2 separate regions of the Homo sapiens genome follow, and region 2 is linked to region 1. Evidence: promoter capture Hi-C in 16 types of primary human blood cells and fetal thymus (Javierre and others, 2016). All regions are on one chromosome and are shown on one strand. The core of a region is centred on a gene start or on the middle of the fragment in contact, and the rest is flanking DNA. Distances in the headings are between cores, read along the strand shown.

Region 1 (3,841 bases), core at 787-3,286:
TGCAAATTATTTGACTCTTACTTGTAAAAAAAATCCTTAATTCTTTTTGTGTGTGAGACACGTGTTCATTAAAAAGTACATATAAGCAAAAAGAACAAAAAGAAGAAAACAAATAAAATTTCACACCACACAGAAATAAGCTTGGTTAAGTTTGTGATATATGTTATATGGATGTATGTATACACACACGCACACACACAAAGTTTGGAATTTTATCCTACATATGTGAGCTGATATTAAATATGCTGCTTTGCCATAACCTGTTATGTTTTACTTTACAACATGGAATGAACATATTCCCATGCAAATGTGTGAAAGTTTCCAATTGAAAAATAGACCTGGAAAATGGGTCAAAATCCAAAATCCAATGAGATGCTGGTACCAAGGAAATTACCTAAAACAAAATTTCATCAGATGATTAAAAGTAAAATGGAGGTCAAAGATACATCAGAAAATGCTAACAGAAAGAAAGCTGGGGCCAGATTTTAATATTAGGCAAAAATGAATTCAAGGCCTAAAGCACACAGGATAAGGACGGCTGCGTGAATGTCTTTGCTTCCAATGCATCATCACAAACTTGTTTCTTACTCTTCTTATCTCTTCCCTAAGCCTTTCAAGCTCATCTACTCCTCTTATCATTTCTTCAGGGTCCAAATGCCTAACGGGTGTGTCCTCTTTAAATCCCTGGCCAGGCTGATTCGGCCCTCCTCTGGGGTTTCCTTCTGCTTCCTGGCTTACGCCTTCTTCGGAAGGTTGAGGATTTCCTTCTGCCTCCTGTGGTACATCCTCCAAAGGGCGATCTTCCTCGGCCTTTGGCATGTTCTGTGGTTTTCCCTCATTTTCTTCACAAGACTTTTGCATATTGAGTATTTTTTATTTCCTTTTTGAATAAATTAATCCTAGAAAACAAGGAAACAAAACTACTAGATTCCAGGCAAACAGACCAGCAGTCAGAGTATGGGGTCCCATAGCGACTGGCCTTTTTTGACTCAGTACCCTAATTGTCAAAAGTTTTCCAACTAGAGAAAGCTGGATCCTCAGGCTCAGAACTCCCCTGACTCCACCTCCCTTCGCGCCCCCTTTCGTTCCAGCTCCATCTTTCTCCTCCTGCTCCTGCCCACCATCTTCCCAGCAGGCCCTGCTACAAGCCTCTCCTAATACTGAAATGGGAGCAGTACGGAAGCAATTAACCCTTCTCCCGCCTCTGGTCTCCAACACTCCCGCCCTTCAGACTTTCCCAGGCCCTCTCAACCTCCAGCCTCTCACCTGAGACGGCTGGTCCAGTCTCTGGCCTCCCCTCCCCCTTCAGCGTCTCTTAAGCCTCCTCCTCCCCCGCCTCATTTCCGCTGCAGGCTCGGCACCGGCCTCTGGCACTTAATCCGGATGGGGAGGGGCTGCTGCGACCCCAGGATGTGCTTTGGTGTCACTCACACTTCCACCCCCACCCGAAGAGACCTGAAGCAATTGCACCTTTACAAAAACTGACCTGCAGGGATTCAGGGGATTTTCCTCTCTCTTCCCTCACCTCGATTTGTGTCGCGCCCAAAAAACCAAATATCCTGCAGACAGATGGGAGTGTTTGGTGAGCAGACTAGTACCTGGATCACGGGTCCCTTTCATGATTCTAGGCCATGTTGGTGTAAAGTTTCCCATGTCCTCATCCTCGCCCTCCTTTTATGGCAACCCCGCCCTCCTCCGTGCCCACCGTTTTTCTGCAAGCAGGGAGTAGGAAAAGCAAGTTTCTTCCAAACAGTTTCTATGTCTCTCTCTCAGGACCCTTAATTAGCTACCCTTCTCTCTCTCCACCCGCCATCCCCCACCAAACAGCCCCAAATTTCCTGCACAAAATGGGAGTTTGGCGGAACAGAAGTGGGGAAAGCAGTGCCGGCCCCGCTTGCTTTCTGCTCTCGGCCTCCTCGACCCCAGGGTCTCCAAGTCAGCGCCCACGTTTATACTAACCTGAAAGGATCTTGGGCACTTTTCTCCTTCTCCAGCAATAAGGAGCTGCTACAGGGAAACAGGCCCTGGACTATAAGGACTTCTGCACACGTCGACTCCTGGTCACGTGAGAGTCGCGTCATCACTGAGCTCGAGTCCCCAGTTACCCCTCCCATTAACACTGCAGCCCGCCCGCTGCGTTCCCTCCACTTGATACTGTCAATCTTTTTTCGTATTTGCCAATCGGAGACAATAAACTGTTATCTTCGCCCTGGAGTATTTATTCGCCTTTCTCAGATTACCAGGAGGATCAGCCTTTTAGGGGTAATCGACCATTTCTCCTTCTTTGAGGAATCATCTCTTTCTTCTGCTCCCAATACTCCCACCTCCCCTCCTCCAAGACCCCTACAGTCCACCATTTCCCCTGGAATCCTATCCAGCATTGAAATGGGCAAAGGTGGTAGATCGGGAAGAGGGGGCTGGAAAAGAATCTAAGGTTGAAAGTGGAGGATTTGACTAATCCTCTTGAATAGTTTTCTGTTGTGTTCTATGTTTTCAGCAATCAGCATACTTTTAAAAATGGTATCAGAAAACGGATGCCTCATAAGCAATATGTAACACTTAATATGAAGGACAAATTAGTTATATCAATGTGTAAGACTTTGGAAAAGTTTTCTAATGGCTGGAAATGAAATGACAATATTCACAACATATTGATGTGTTAGAATTTTTTAAAATCTTACCAAACAGCACTTAAAAAATTGACTCCCAAATTAATGTGTGGAAGGAGGCCTAGTTTTCTCTTGTTAGCAATTTTGTATAGGTAATCTACTACTCTTTCTATTTCTGGCAGAACTCAAGTTATCAAGTGTTGGATGTCTGATCTTTTTCATTGATGACCACTGGTGGCATCCACTAAGGTTTCACTTGGAGGCTTCAGACAGACTTCCTCCCCATTTCCTCTATAGGATTCAGTATCTTGTTAATCAGATAAGTCCACAGAAAAGCCTGCTTTCCACTGAGTAAAATTCTTTTGGAACTCAAAGTAGTATGTTTCTTGGAAAACATTTCGTTGTTGGGAAATAACTCATACACTCATGAAACACTCAGAAAAGAGAATTCTCTGTATCTCACCATCAGGCTTGAGGCTTCTTTGCATGGCATTTTCATTCATGGCACTCTTGAGATAGTCTGGTATCATCCACTGTGTCCCATTAAAAGAACTATTGACATGCATAATTGTTATGATTAGAAAGCAAAGAGAACAACATTGCTGTAAAAAATAATATTAAACAGGAAACTGATATCCCTGCAACTCAGAATCCACTGGTACTTGGAAGGATGGTGGTGCCTGGAGTGGCATTCTGGCCAATGGAGCCAGCTGGAGAGTCAGAAGAAGACAGAGGGGGTCTTTTGTCTAGGGTGGTCACAGCAGGATGCCTTAGCCAACAAGAACACCCACCAGAGAAGAGAAAAGAAGGTTTGGAAAAAATAAATATTTTTTGGACTTAATGATTTATAGTTGAAGCATGACAAATTTCTTCCACACTTGAGGGATAAATGTTCTATTGTTTGAGAGAGAGCTTTTAATATAAATATAACTAGCAAATTATAAAGATTTAATCATTGCCTATCACCAAATGTTTCCACTCTTTTAAATGTAACCATTTAGTGAGGAACAACTCTGATCTTTTAAAAGAAAAATCATCAGCAGCAAAATGGACTTTGTGTGTGTGTACACTTCTATGAAGTTTAACCAATGTATAGATTTGTTTAACCACCACTGCAATCAGAATACAGTTCAATCACCCCCAGAAACTCCTGCATGCTGTCTCTTGTAGTCCTATTTGACTGCCTTCCCTAAACTCTGGCAACCACTAATATATTCCCCATTACTACACTT
Region 2 (4,268 bases), core at 1,604-4,103, 240 kb after region 1:
ATTTTTTTATACTCATTAACCATATGCACCTCCCCTCCAGCCTGCCACCATCCTTCCCAGCCTCTAGTAACCATCCTTCTAGTCTCTACCTCCATGAGTTCAATTGCGTTCATTTTTATCTCCCACAAATAAGTGAGAACATGCAATGTTTGTCTTTCTGTGCCTGGCTTATTTTACTTAACATAATGACTTCCAGTTCCATCCATGTTTTTGCAAATGACTGAATCACATTCTTCTTGATGGCTGACTAGTACTCCGTTGTGTATGTGTACCACATTTTCTTTATCCATTCATCTCTTGATGGACACTTAAGTTGCTTCCAAATGTTAGCTATAGTGAACAGTGCTGCAACAAACATGGGAGTGCAGATGTCTCTTTAATATACTGATTTCCTTTCTTTTGGGTATATACCCAGCAGTGGGATTGCGGGTCATATGGAAGTTCAATTTTTAGTTTTTTTGAGGAACCTTCAAAATGTTCTACATAGTGGTTTTACTAACTTACATTCCTACCAACAGTGTACAAGGTTTCCCTTTTCTCCACATCCTTGCCAGCATTTGTTATTGCCTGTCTTTTGGATATAAGCCATTTTAACTGGGGTGAGATGATATCTTGTTGTAGTTTGGATTGGCATTTCTCTGATGATCAATGAAGTTGAGCACCTTTTCATATGCCTGTCTGCCATTTGTATGTCTTCTTTAGAGAAATGTCTATTCAAATCTTTTGCCCACCTTTTAATCAGTTTAGTTATTTTTGCTATAGAGTTGTTTGAGCTCATTATATATTCTGGTTATTAATCCCTTGTCAAATGGGTAGTCTGCAAATATTTTCTCCCATTCTGTGGGTTGTCTCTTCACTTTGTTGATTGTTTCCTTTGCTGTGCAAAAGCTTTTTAACTTGATGTGATTCCATTTGTCCGTTTTTGCTTTGGTTGCCTGTGTTGGGGTATTACTCTAGAAATCTTTGCCCAGACCAATGTCCTGGAGAGTTTCCCCAAAGTCTTGTAGTTTCATAGTTTGAAGTCTTAGATTTAAGCCTTTAACTGATATTGATTTAATTTTTGTATATGGCAAGAAATAGAGGGTCTATTTTCATTCTTCTGCGTATGGATTTCCAGATTTCCCAGCACCACTTATTGAAGAGACTGTCTTTTCCTCAGTATAGGTTCTTTGTTGAAAATGGGTTCACTGTAGGTGTGTGGATTTGTTTCTGGGTTCTTTATTCTGTTCCACTGGTCTATGTGTCTGTTTTTATGCCAGTACCATGCTGTTTTGGTGATATAGCTCTGTAGTATAATTTGAAGTGAGGTATTGTGATTCCTCCAGTTTTGTTCTTTTTGCTCAAGATAGCTTTGGGAATTCTGGGTCTTTTGTGATTCTATATGAATTTTAGGATTGTTCTGTTTCTGTGGAGAATGTCATTGGTATTTTGATAGGGATTGTATTAAATCTGTAGATTGCTTTGAGTAGAATGGACATTTTAACAATATTGATTCTTCCAATCAATGAACATGAAATACTTTTCCATTTTTTGGCGTCATCTTCAATTTCTGTCATCAGTGTTTTATAGCTTTCATTATAGAGGCCTTTCACTTCTTTGGTTAATTCCTGTGTATTTAATTTTATTTATGGCTATTGTAAATGGGATTACTTTTAAATTTATTTTTTAGATTGTTCACTCTTGGCTGGCATATAGAAACACTACTGATTTTTGTATGTTGATTTTGTATCTTGCAACTATACTGAATTTGTTTATGAGTTCTAATCGTTTTTTGATGGAGTCTAGGTTTTTCCAAATATAAGATCATGTCATCTGCAAACAAGGATAATTTGACTTCTTCTTTTCCAGTTTGGATGCCCTTTATTTCTTTCTCTTGTCTGATTGCTGTAGCTGGGACTTCATCGTTGAGTTTTAGACATTTTCATCACCCTAAGATTACCCATCCTGCTTGAATGCAGTTAATCCCTGTGCCCACCCCCAGCCCTAGGCAATCACAGATATGCTTTGTTTCTCTGTGGATTTGCTTGTTTTTGACATTTTATATAAGTGAAATCAAACAATATTTGGTCTTTTGCATCTGGCTTCTTTCACTTTACATAATGTTTTCAAAATCTGTGTTGCAGCATATATCAGTTCCTCATCCATATTTATTGCTGAATATACCACATTTTATCCATGTATCAATTGATGAGCATTTGGGTTGTTTCCACTCTTTGGCTATTTTGAATGATGATCCTGTATACATTCAGGTACAAGTTTTTATGTAGGCATATTTCTTTTGGCTATGTACCTAGGGGTGGAATTGCTGTGTCATATGGTAACTCCCTGTTAACCATTTGAGGTATGGCCAGACTATTTTCATAAGCTTGATTTCATGAGAAGTACAGGCATAACTTGTTTTTCTCATTATTAGACTGAGGTTATGGGTTTTCAGAAGGAATACCGCAGAGATGAATTGCCCTTTTTATCACACCATATATGGGTTTACATGCTACCCATATGATATCAATGGTGATGTTAACCTTCATCACTTGGTTAAGGTACTGTTTGCCAAATTTCTCCAGTGTGTGGTAACTATTTTACATTCCTATACTCTTTTCTGTAGAAGTAAGTCACTAAGTCAGCCCTGTTCTTAGGAGGTAGAGGACAGAATTAAACTTCACCTCATGAACTGAGGGTTAGCCACATATATTGTTTAGAATTATTTGATTGAGACAATTTGTCTTCTCTGACCCATTTCTTTGTCAATGGAAACACTTAATTTATATCAGTATGGAATCATGTACACTTATCATATAGTTGTGATAGTTTACCAAATGGAAACATTCCAAAAGGAATTCCAGAATTATGATTTGTGTGGTGCAGTAGAAGAATTCTGACCTAATCAGGAGACTGCAAGAGTTCCCTCTATCTACTATTATATTTCACCACCATTATATTACCAAATTATGGCATATTAAACAATCAGACAATGCTTTTAGGCAATATATTTAACCACGACAAATTTTGAAACAACATTTTAATTTCAGGCGATTACATTGCATACTTAGTAATTCCTTCAGAAAGAAATAAAACAATAAACAGAATTTATTGAAGTGATCATAAAAATATTGCTAACATGCAGTAAATCTATTTGCAAAATTCCTTTTATTGAAGCAATAGTATGGGATATGTTGGGGAAATGTTGTACTTCAACTGATAGCACAGTTCCTGTAGCACAGCCTTCACGTTATCTGACTGACTCTTATGGAAGCTATTTTACAATGCTAGCTTTTAGGTAAATATAGCATTGCAATATAATCTTTGTCTATACAAAAGCAACTGAATTTTGTCATTGCGGGGGAAGCTTTGTCTCCATATAGATGTTCATTTTAACACTCTTGATCTATAAATGGGACAAAGGGGTGGCTGTTGGTTTTGATGGGGTTCATTTCAACAGAGGGGTGCGGGAACAAAGCACCATTAGATGAGGAATGAGGACTGAGGTGGAGGGAGGTGCAAAGGGATGTGAGTTGAGTATTGAGAATTCTTCATAGAACTTTGGTTGCAATGGGAGAATATATGTAAAGAGAACAGTAACTAGGGTTGTAGAGAGAGGTCTAGGGTTTTAAATTATGTTTTAAAATTATCAATGATAAGAGGCTCTCTCAGGGTGGAAATATTAAGGAGAAGGAGCCATCTCTTCTTAGGTCTAGAAACTGAGTTTACCACAACCCCCTTACTTCCTTGTTTCTATTCTGGGGAAGTCTAAAACTTAACCAGAGGGATGGTGTCATTTGACTTTAATGCCTGTTAACTATGGGGATGGATAGATGGATGGATGGATGGATGGATGGATGGACAGATGGATGGATGGATGCACGATGTGTCAAACAGGTGCTGGTATTTTATCTTCCAGCACTGAGCTCCTCACACAGGTGACTGAACCCGTGGTTTTGGTGTCTGAGAAGATGCAGCTTCTCCAGTCTCTGCAACTGACGGCAGGAAGATGGGAGCACTCAGCTTCAGTGTTCAGAAGCAGATTTAGGCCAATTGCCATACCTTACGTTCTGGAGGGATCCACCCTGACCTGAGCAGGTGAGGTCACAGAAAGGCTTGCTGTCCATCACAGGGACAGGATTACAGCCTGCTCAGAAGCATGTTGTGGTCCAGCTCTTGTGTCACTTAAAAAGACTCCAGCTCTTCTCTAATATTGAATTCAACTAATATCACAGAGAGATGTTCTTAATCTTCTAGACAAACACACTGCCATCAGTATTCCCCAGAGG

What was found. Contacts are between HindIII fragments. The CHiCAGO score rates a contact against its expected background, and 5 or more counts as called.
Region 2: a fragment that was not itself captured here is called in contact with the fragment with the promoter of TCEAL8 in region 1 in 2 of 17 cell types (megakaryocytes and naive CD4 T cells); the score reaches 7.2 in megakaryocytes.

What each region holds. Positions count from the first base shown.
Region 1 is chrX:103,253,119-103,256,959 of GRCh38, forward strand. TCEAL8 (transcription elongation factor A like 8) reads right to left here and starts at 2,037. Exons shown (of 3, transcript NM_153333.3): 1 at 1,960-2,037; 2 at 1,487-1,559; 3 at 1-899. The coding sequence starts at 861. The coding sequence ends at 508. RefSeq lists an enhancer at 1,974-2,023. The HindIII fragment of the contact is 6,472 bases long and covers 139-3,841 here.
Region 2 is chrX:103,493,537-103,497,804 of GRCh38, forward strand. The region is part of intron 5 of LL0XNC01-250H12.3 (a long non-coding RNA gene); the gene reads left to right. It also overlaps a transcript of RAB40A not described here. Among named protein-coding and RNA genes, the nearest start is that of RAB40A, 24 kb to the right of the region's middle. The HindIII fragment of the contact is 981 bases long and covers 2,364-3,344 here.